2 separate regions of the Homo sapiens genome follow, and region 1 is linked to region 2. The links are contacts of gene promoters, found by promoter capture Hi-C in blood cells and fetal thymus (Javierre and others, 2016). All regions are on one chromosome and are shown on one strand. Each heading gives the region's core, a stretch centred on a gene start or on the middle of the fragment in contact. The rest is flanking DNA. Distances are from core to core; before and after follow the strand shown.

Evidence for each region. Contacts are between HindIII fragments. The CHiCAGO score rates a contact against its expected background, and 5 or more counts as called.
Region 1: the fragment with the promoter of RPL7 here is called in contact with the fragment with the promoter of SNX16 in region 2 in 4 of 17 cell types (total B cells, total CD4 T cells, total CD8 T cells and 1 more); the score reaches 6.7 in total B cells.

What each region holds. Positions count from the first base shown.
Region 1 is chr8:73,292,308-73,295,780 of GRCh38, reverse strand. RPL7 (ribosomal protein L7) reads left to right here and starts at 2,148. Exons shown (of 7, transcript NM_000971.4): 1 at 2,148-2,182; 2 at 2,984-3,092; 3 at 3,376-3,473. The coding sequence starts at 2,169. It overlaps RDH10 (retinol dehydrogenase 10), which reads right to left and starts at 1,179. Exons shown (of 6, transcript NM_172037.5): 1 at 203-1,179. The coding sequence starts at 491. RefSeq lists a silencer at 487-1,446 and enhancers at 1,537-2,026, 1,480-2,187, 2,147-2,506, 2,517-2,566, 2,188-2,896. The HindIII fragment of the contact is 6,100 bases long and covers 1-3,398 here.
Region 2 is chr8:81,840,263-81,843,604 of GRCh38, reverse strand. It overlaps SNX16 (sorting nexin 16), which reads left to right and starts at 1,420. Exons shown (of 8, transcript NM_152836.3): 1 at 1,420-1,483. It overlaps LINC02235 (long intergenic non-protein coding RNA 2235), which reads right to left and starts at 986. Exons shown (of 8, transcript NR_170320.1): 1 at 934-986. RefSeq lists enhancers at 736-1,005, 1,437-1,486, 1,414-2,346 and a silencer at 1,817-1,866. The HindIII fragment of the contact is 7,243 bases long and covers 1-3,193 here.

The DNA.
Region 1 (3,473 bases), core at 899-3,398, 8.5 Mb after region 2:
GGGCACCTTCTCCCTGGTAATACAGAAGTGATCGCGTTCCTTTATCAGGAAGCGAATTCCACTCGTCTCCCAAAAGACCGGTGGGGTGTTCCTTTCCTCCACAGCGGGGCTGACCAGGCAGCGGGGTTTGGGGCCTGCCGTGGTAGGGCGCGGGGTGGAAAGAGGCTTGACCCAACAATGCTCCCGCGCGGGTCCAGGTTACCTTGCAGCGCAGCGGCGTCGGCCGCCTCCAGGTCGCGGTAGATGTGGCGCACCATGCCAGCCGTCTCCTCGTTGCTTTGCGTGTTGATGTCCCACAGCACCAGCAGCGCCCGACGCCGGGCGAACTCCAGCGCGAAGAGGCGGCCCAGGCCGCTGCCGGCGCCGGTGATGAGGCACACCTGGCCCGCCACGCTCTTCTCCTTGGGCCGCACCAGCCAGCGCGCCGCGGCCAGCACGAACGCCCAGAGCACTTTGAAAGTGACCACGAAGAACTCCACCACGATGTTCATCGCGACGCCCGGGGCCCCGCACGAGCCCAGTGCCTGCGTCCGCGCCCACCCCGAGCCCGGCAATCGGGCTCCCGGCTCCGGGGCGCTTGTCACAGAGGCCGGGACGAGAAGGCTGCGCCCCGCGCCCGCCCCCGAGGTGCCCGCCGGGTTGGAGTGCGCGGCGCCGCTCCCTGCCTGCGCGGGGCCACTCCCGCCCGGGCTCGGCGCTGTGGCCCCGGACTGTGCCCGCCGCGGCAGTCACCCGGCTCGGCGCCTCCTGCCGGCAGCCGCCCGCCCGTCCCGCAGCGCCCGGCCGGCCGGCTCCGCTGCAGTGGCGGTGACAGCCGCGAGTTAGACTACTCGAACTGCCCTCATGGCCAAGCTGCTGCCGCCCGAGCGTCCCCGGAACCGGCGCGCCGGCTCCCTCTCACCCCGGGGGAGGGGTGCGCAGCGGAGGCGGCACGGGCCAGCGGGCTGCCGCGGGAGTTGTCAACTCGACCCAAGTTGCGAGAGGGTGGGAGAGTGGGGTGCGGGGCGGCGGAGCGCCGGGAAGGGGAGACTCGCTCGGCGCAGGCAAGCGCTGCCCAACGCCTTGCAGCTGCCCCCGAGGGCTCGCGTTCCCCGGCCCTGCACTCTCCGCGGGTGTCACTCGGGCACTGGGCTCCGCAGCGCAGCCCGCTTGCAAGTCAGAGCGCTCCGGGCCGGCTCTGAGCGGGCTCCACGCTCCGCGCTATATAACCCCGCGACCGGGAAGAGCCCGCGCCAGCCTCGGCATCGGCCCTCCCTCCGCCCGGCCTCCCCGCCCCCGGGCGCACCCCGCCCCCGGCCCAGCCCCCAGCCCGCCAGCCGTCCGCGGAGCCGAGCCGGGTAGCCCCTCTCACACGGCCGTGGCCGCAACCTCAGCCCTCCTCGCACCTCCCTTCGCAGCTCACGCCCCCTCCCGTGGGGTGTCCTGGCCTCCGCCTGCCGAGCTCGGCAGTCAGCAGAGCCCCGGCCATCCTCCTCCGGCCGTCCGGTCCCCACTGGTCCCTGGCTAGCCACTTTTCGTAAGCTAGAGCACTCCAGACCGCCCCGCCTGCGATCAGGCGCTGCGGAAGACAGCCCTGTGGGCTGGAGCGACGACAAGGACCTCGCGGAGCGGCGAAAGGGGTGTAGTCTGCGACTACCGCGGCAGGGAGCCGGGAGGGCGGCCAAAAGTGACTTCGAATTGCAGCTAGCCGTTTGGAACGTGGCCCAAGAGGCTCTCATTTTCCTGGCTGGAACCGTCGCCGCGGTGCTTGCCTGCGGTCCTGGTCAGCCGTTGCCCTCCCGCCGGGCGGGCGAAGACTGGTGCATGCTGGGATTTGTAGTTCGTCCCCATGAGGCTCGTCCTGGGAACATTATGGGGAGGAACGGAGCCTAATCCTGTCAGCGCAGCCTGGGGATTAGGACCCGGAGTTGCCAAGGTGTCAGCACTCTTTGCTCTTGAATTGATTAAAAAGTCTAATCAAATGCATATATTTTCTTCAAACAAGTTTTACCCGAAAGTTTGTTGAAAGAGGCTAAATCAGGGAGTTCTTTGCGTCTGCAAGGCGGCTTTTTAGTTCTGGATTCTTTTCCGGCTTATTCTAAGACACCTATGAGTCGTGGGGCTTCTCTCGCGAAGTCTTTAAGTGGACAGTACGCATGCGCCAACTTCCTCTTTTTCCGGCTGGAACCATGGAGGGTGTAGAGTGAGTTGCTTCTGGTCCTCTTGAGAATCCTTCTCCATCTCCAGAGCCAGATACTTTTTGTGTCACTTTTTCTCTCTCTGGCCGTAGCTTGCACCTTTGCCCACCTCCCTGCTTGATTGTGAACGCTGTGTGACACCAGTGGGGACCTGAGGCTAGGGTTGGGATGCGGGCGGTCTTAGGACGGAGGTTTTGGAGATCCCGGGAACGAGATGTCGGGTTGGAATGTGTGTGGAACCCGTCGGTTGGCTGACGGCCCAGTCCTCGGTAGAGGGTCTTTCGGGGGAGGCGCAGAACCTCTGAATTGTGTTCGTCCTTGGCTGGTGCTTGGTACAGGCCTCCCTGCCGCCAGGCCTTTGCTTTCAACATGTGGATCCTGATTGAACCAGAGTGGTGGTGGCTTGTTTTTTTTTTATTTTTATTTTTTAATTTTTGCGCTTAAAGTCTCGGGGTCAGTGCCTTGCAGTAGTCTTTCAGCTAGTACATTTTGTTATTCGGGTGTTGGTGTGTTTTTTTTGTTTTTTTTTTTAATTAGTCGTCGGAGGCCGGGCCTCTTGGTTGAAATAGGGAAAAACGTATTGCTATTGTCATATTTGTGATTGCGTTTTAGGCAACATGGTGTTAAAGGTTATTGACATGGAGCTAAAATATGCATCGTACACTGTAGCATGCCAGAGCAAGTAAAGTTACTAGTGACTAAAGTCAGTGACAGCATTTCTGGTAAACAACACTGCTCAGTACGGGAGTAATACAGCGCTGTGAGCTTTTTGAGCTATTGATAACATTTTTGTTTATTAACGTTAGAGAGAAGAAGAAGGAGGTTCCTGCTGTGCCAGAAACCCTTAAGAAAAAGCGAAGGAATTTCGCAGAGCTGAAGATCAAGCGCCTGAGAAAGAAGTTTGCCCAAAAGATGGTAAGTAAACTTTTTGAGGCACTAGCACATAAGGAGGCGCCTTATTGGGATTGAGGATGAGGTGAATGTTCTTGGCAAGATTTACTTCCTAACTGTACTGAGTAATTGCTTAGCTACCTAATGTTACAATCTGAAGGTAGTGGGGTTTTTTGGTGGGGGATGTAATTGCATACTGTGGCAAGAAAAGATTTAAAGGAAACATGTTGTAGTTTTCTTTTTAATGATTGGCATTGCTAATTGTGATTGAGCTAAAAATTATGAATAACTGATTATTGGTTTTCAGCTTCGAAAGGCAAGGAGGAAGCTTATCTATGAAAAAGCAAAGCACTATCACAAGGAATATAGGCAGATGTACAGAACTGAAATTCGAATGGCGAGGAT
Region 2 (3,342 bases), core at 171-2,670:
AACCTTCTAGGCCCTTGGTATCTGGGCCTAGTCTTCATTTCCATAGGAGTACAACTTTGTAACTTAACTTTAGCCTCTGATTGGTTGCAGGCTACTCCTTAATTTACAGAGGGTGTAAACCAAGTAACCAATGGGAAATCTCTAGCGGATATTTAAACTCCAGAAAATCCTGTAACCAGGGCTCTTGAGCCACTGGCTGGAGGCCATTCCCACTCTGTGGAGTGTACAGTCATTTCAATCTCTGCTTTCCTTGCTTCATTCTTTCCTTGCTTTCTTTGTGCGTTTTGTCCAATTCTTTGTTAAAAAAACCAAGAACCTGGATGACTTGTAGTCAAGACCCTCCATGGGTAACATTGGGACTATACAAAAGCCTTAGAAATCGTGGAATGATTTTTCAACCACATTATCTGATTCTAATGATGAACAGACCTGTAGACCGGTCTGAATCTTGGGATTTGCCTATCAAAAAACTCGGCTTTCCCTACTGCACAGGTCTTCAGAAGCGCATGTCTAACAAGGCTAATATTCCATCATCGGGATCAAATTGCTCACCGGATAGTAAAAAGACACTACAGAATTTCAGGGGTTCTCTGCCAATGAGAACTTCTGAATTATGTAGAACGGATCAGCTACTAAGCAGTGTTCTATCTTCCTACTCTTCTAATCGATTGTCATCCCTTAAAGCGCTGCTAATTCTAGAAAACAATCTATAACCTGTTAGAATCAGCGCAAGCTGGTGATGACTACAAGTCCCATGATGCAAAGTATGAGCACGGACCAATGTTGGTCGCAGTTCCTTCTGGGAATTGTAGTCTTCTCCTGTTTGGCAAACTAGGTATTGTAGCCTCCATTTCTCAGAAGTTCAGTTGGAAAACTAAAGATAGTGCAGAGAATGTCGATTTCCTGCCACAAGATTACATTTATCTTCGCTACCTGAGCGCCCAGCCGATCAACTCCAGTCGCTCCTCCGGTGGGCGGGCGCCCATGCCGTGACATCACTTCCGGCAGAGATGTGTGTGTGACGCTCTCTCTCTCTCTCTCTCGCTCTCGCTCTCTCCCTCGCTCGTTTTCTTTCTCTTTCTCTCTCTCTCTCTCTCTCTCTCTCTCTCTCTCTCTCTCTCTCTCTCTCTCTCTCTGTCTCTCGCTCTTGCCCTCTCTCTCTCTCTTTCTCTCTGTCTCTGTCTCTCTCTCTCTCTCTCTCTCTCTCTCTCTCTCTCTCTCCCTCCCTCCCTCCCTCCCTCCCTCTCTCTCTCTCTCTCTCCCCCCCCCCCCCCCCCCGCCCAGTTCGGCCCCTCCTTCCACACAGCAGGGATCTTGGGCCCGGGCAGAGACTGGCTGAGGCGGGGAGCAGCTGCTTTTGGGGCGGGGGTGTCACGTGAGGCTTCTCGCTGCTGAGGGAGGAGGCGAAAAGCTGCGGTTAAGGAGAGTCCGGTTTAACCGTCACCGGGAAGCGCGCTCGTTCGGGATCGCCGAGGGGGCTGAGGTAAAGACTGGGTCATTACCTCAGGACAGGCGGTCGCTGTCCCGGGTTCTCGTACGGGTGACACCTGCAACCTTGATGTCTGGCGGGCGGCAAGGGGCTCCGCGGGAGAGTGGAGAGGCGCCGCAGGAAGCCCAGCCACCTTCAGGCCACCGCCGACCCCACTGTGCGTCTGGGAGGCGCTGGGCGCGCACCGGTCAGCGGAGGCGGGAGAGTCTGTGATCCCAGGGAGCTGCGGGTCTCGCCGCCTGCAGTGCGGAAGACCCGTGACCGGCGCAGACCCCGGCCTTACCTTCCGAGGGTCGAACTGTGCCTGGTATTTGCCTCTTTCCTCCCGCCCACGGGGTTGCTCAGAGTCGGGCCACCTCACCTGAGGTTTTCCAGAGTGAGAATGAACTGAGCGTCCTGGGAGCAACTCCGCATCAGGGTAGAGGCGAAGACGCTCCTAATGAGCACAGCACGTTTTTTTGTTTGTTTGTTTGCTTGTTTTGTTTTTTTAACGCTTGGGTAGCGCTCACATCTTCGGACGTCAGTGGTTGTGTTGATATGTATTGATATGCGACCTCCCCCCAGCCAGGCGGCCTCAGGTAGTAGAGTGGCAAAGGCCAGGTAGATCCCTCGGACCTTGAGAAGGTTGAGATTTCAGACTTACTTGTTTTTGGGGAGGCCGTCAGGCGGAACCGAGGAGCGGTGAATCAGCAGCTAAAGTTTCATGAATCTTTGATAATGGGGAAATGTTGCCGAGAGCCACTTGAGTTAAAAATCTTTTTTTTTTTTTTTTTTGAGACGGAGTTTTCCTCTTGTAGCCCAGGCTGGAGTGCAATGGCACGATCTCGGCAAACTGCAACCTCCGCCTCCCGGGTTCAAGCGATTCTCCTGCCTCAGCCTCCCAAGTAGCTGGGATTATAGGCCTGCGCCACCATGCCCGGCTAATTTTTGTATTTTTAGTAGAGACGGGGTTTCACCATGTTGGCCAGGCTAGCCTCGAACTCCTGACCTCAGGCGATCCACCCGCTTCATCCTCCCAAAGTGCTGGGATTACAGGCGTGAGCCACAGCGCCCAGCCCAGAGTTAAAAATCTTATTTCAGCATCTTTCCAAGTCCAGGTGACTCATTTCTTACCTTTCCCACCAGTAGAGTTTCGTATGAAAAGTTGGGCAGTTATTGTTGTGTGTAGTCTTGTCATTTTGTTGGTCTGTAGTTGTTACAGTTTCTTATGAGTTTATTATTTAACAAAGTAATAGTAAACCATTTCTTCTTTGTGTTATGATACTATTCTGACACAAGATATACTGGTCCGTTTGATAACAGATTCTTGAGTGTAAGTTATAAAGATTTAAATACCCTCAGTTTATCGTAGAGCAGAATTAGTGATGACCTGTAAGCTGTGAAGAACGGTTACAATTTTCACTATTTAATTTTGTTGCATATAAGTTCAGTGTTCACTGGGTTTTATTTGAGTAACTTGACCAAGTGTGTATTTTTAATCCTGGGTTCTATAGAATTATACTATGTAGCATCAAAGCATCTGGTTCATTGTTACTACTCTGTGTAAATCTTTATAGTTTCACTAATTAAATTGAAAGGTAATGTGAATAGATTTCCTCCCTTTCTGATTAAATCCAGAGGTAATGTAAATAGTTTTCTTCCTTTTCTTTTTTCTCTCTTGTACTGAATGTAGTACTGTCAAGATGATAAGCATGGAATAAAGCTTCAGAAGGGTCTTTACCAATCTTTCTCCTACCAACTTTTACATACATGAAATCAGGTTAAAATGAACTTTACAGAAATACTTCACAAGGGAATAAAGTAGAGGAAAAAGGGATAACATGTAACATGGAGTCAAGGAAAAAGAGTGTGAA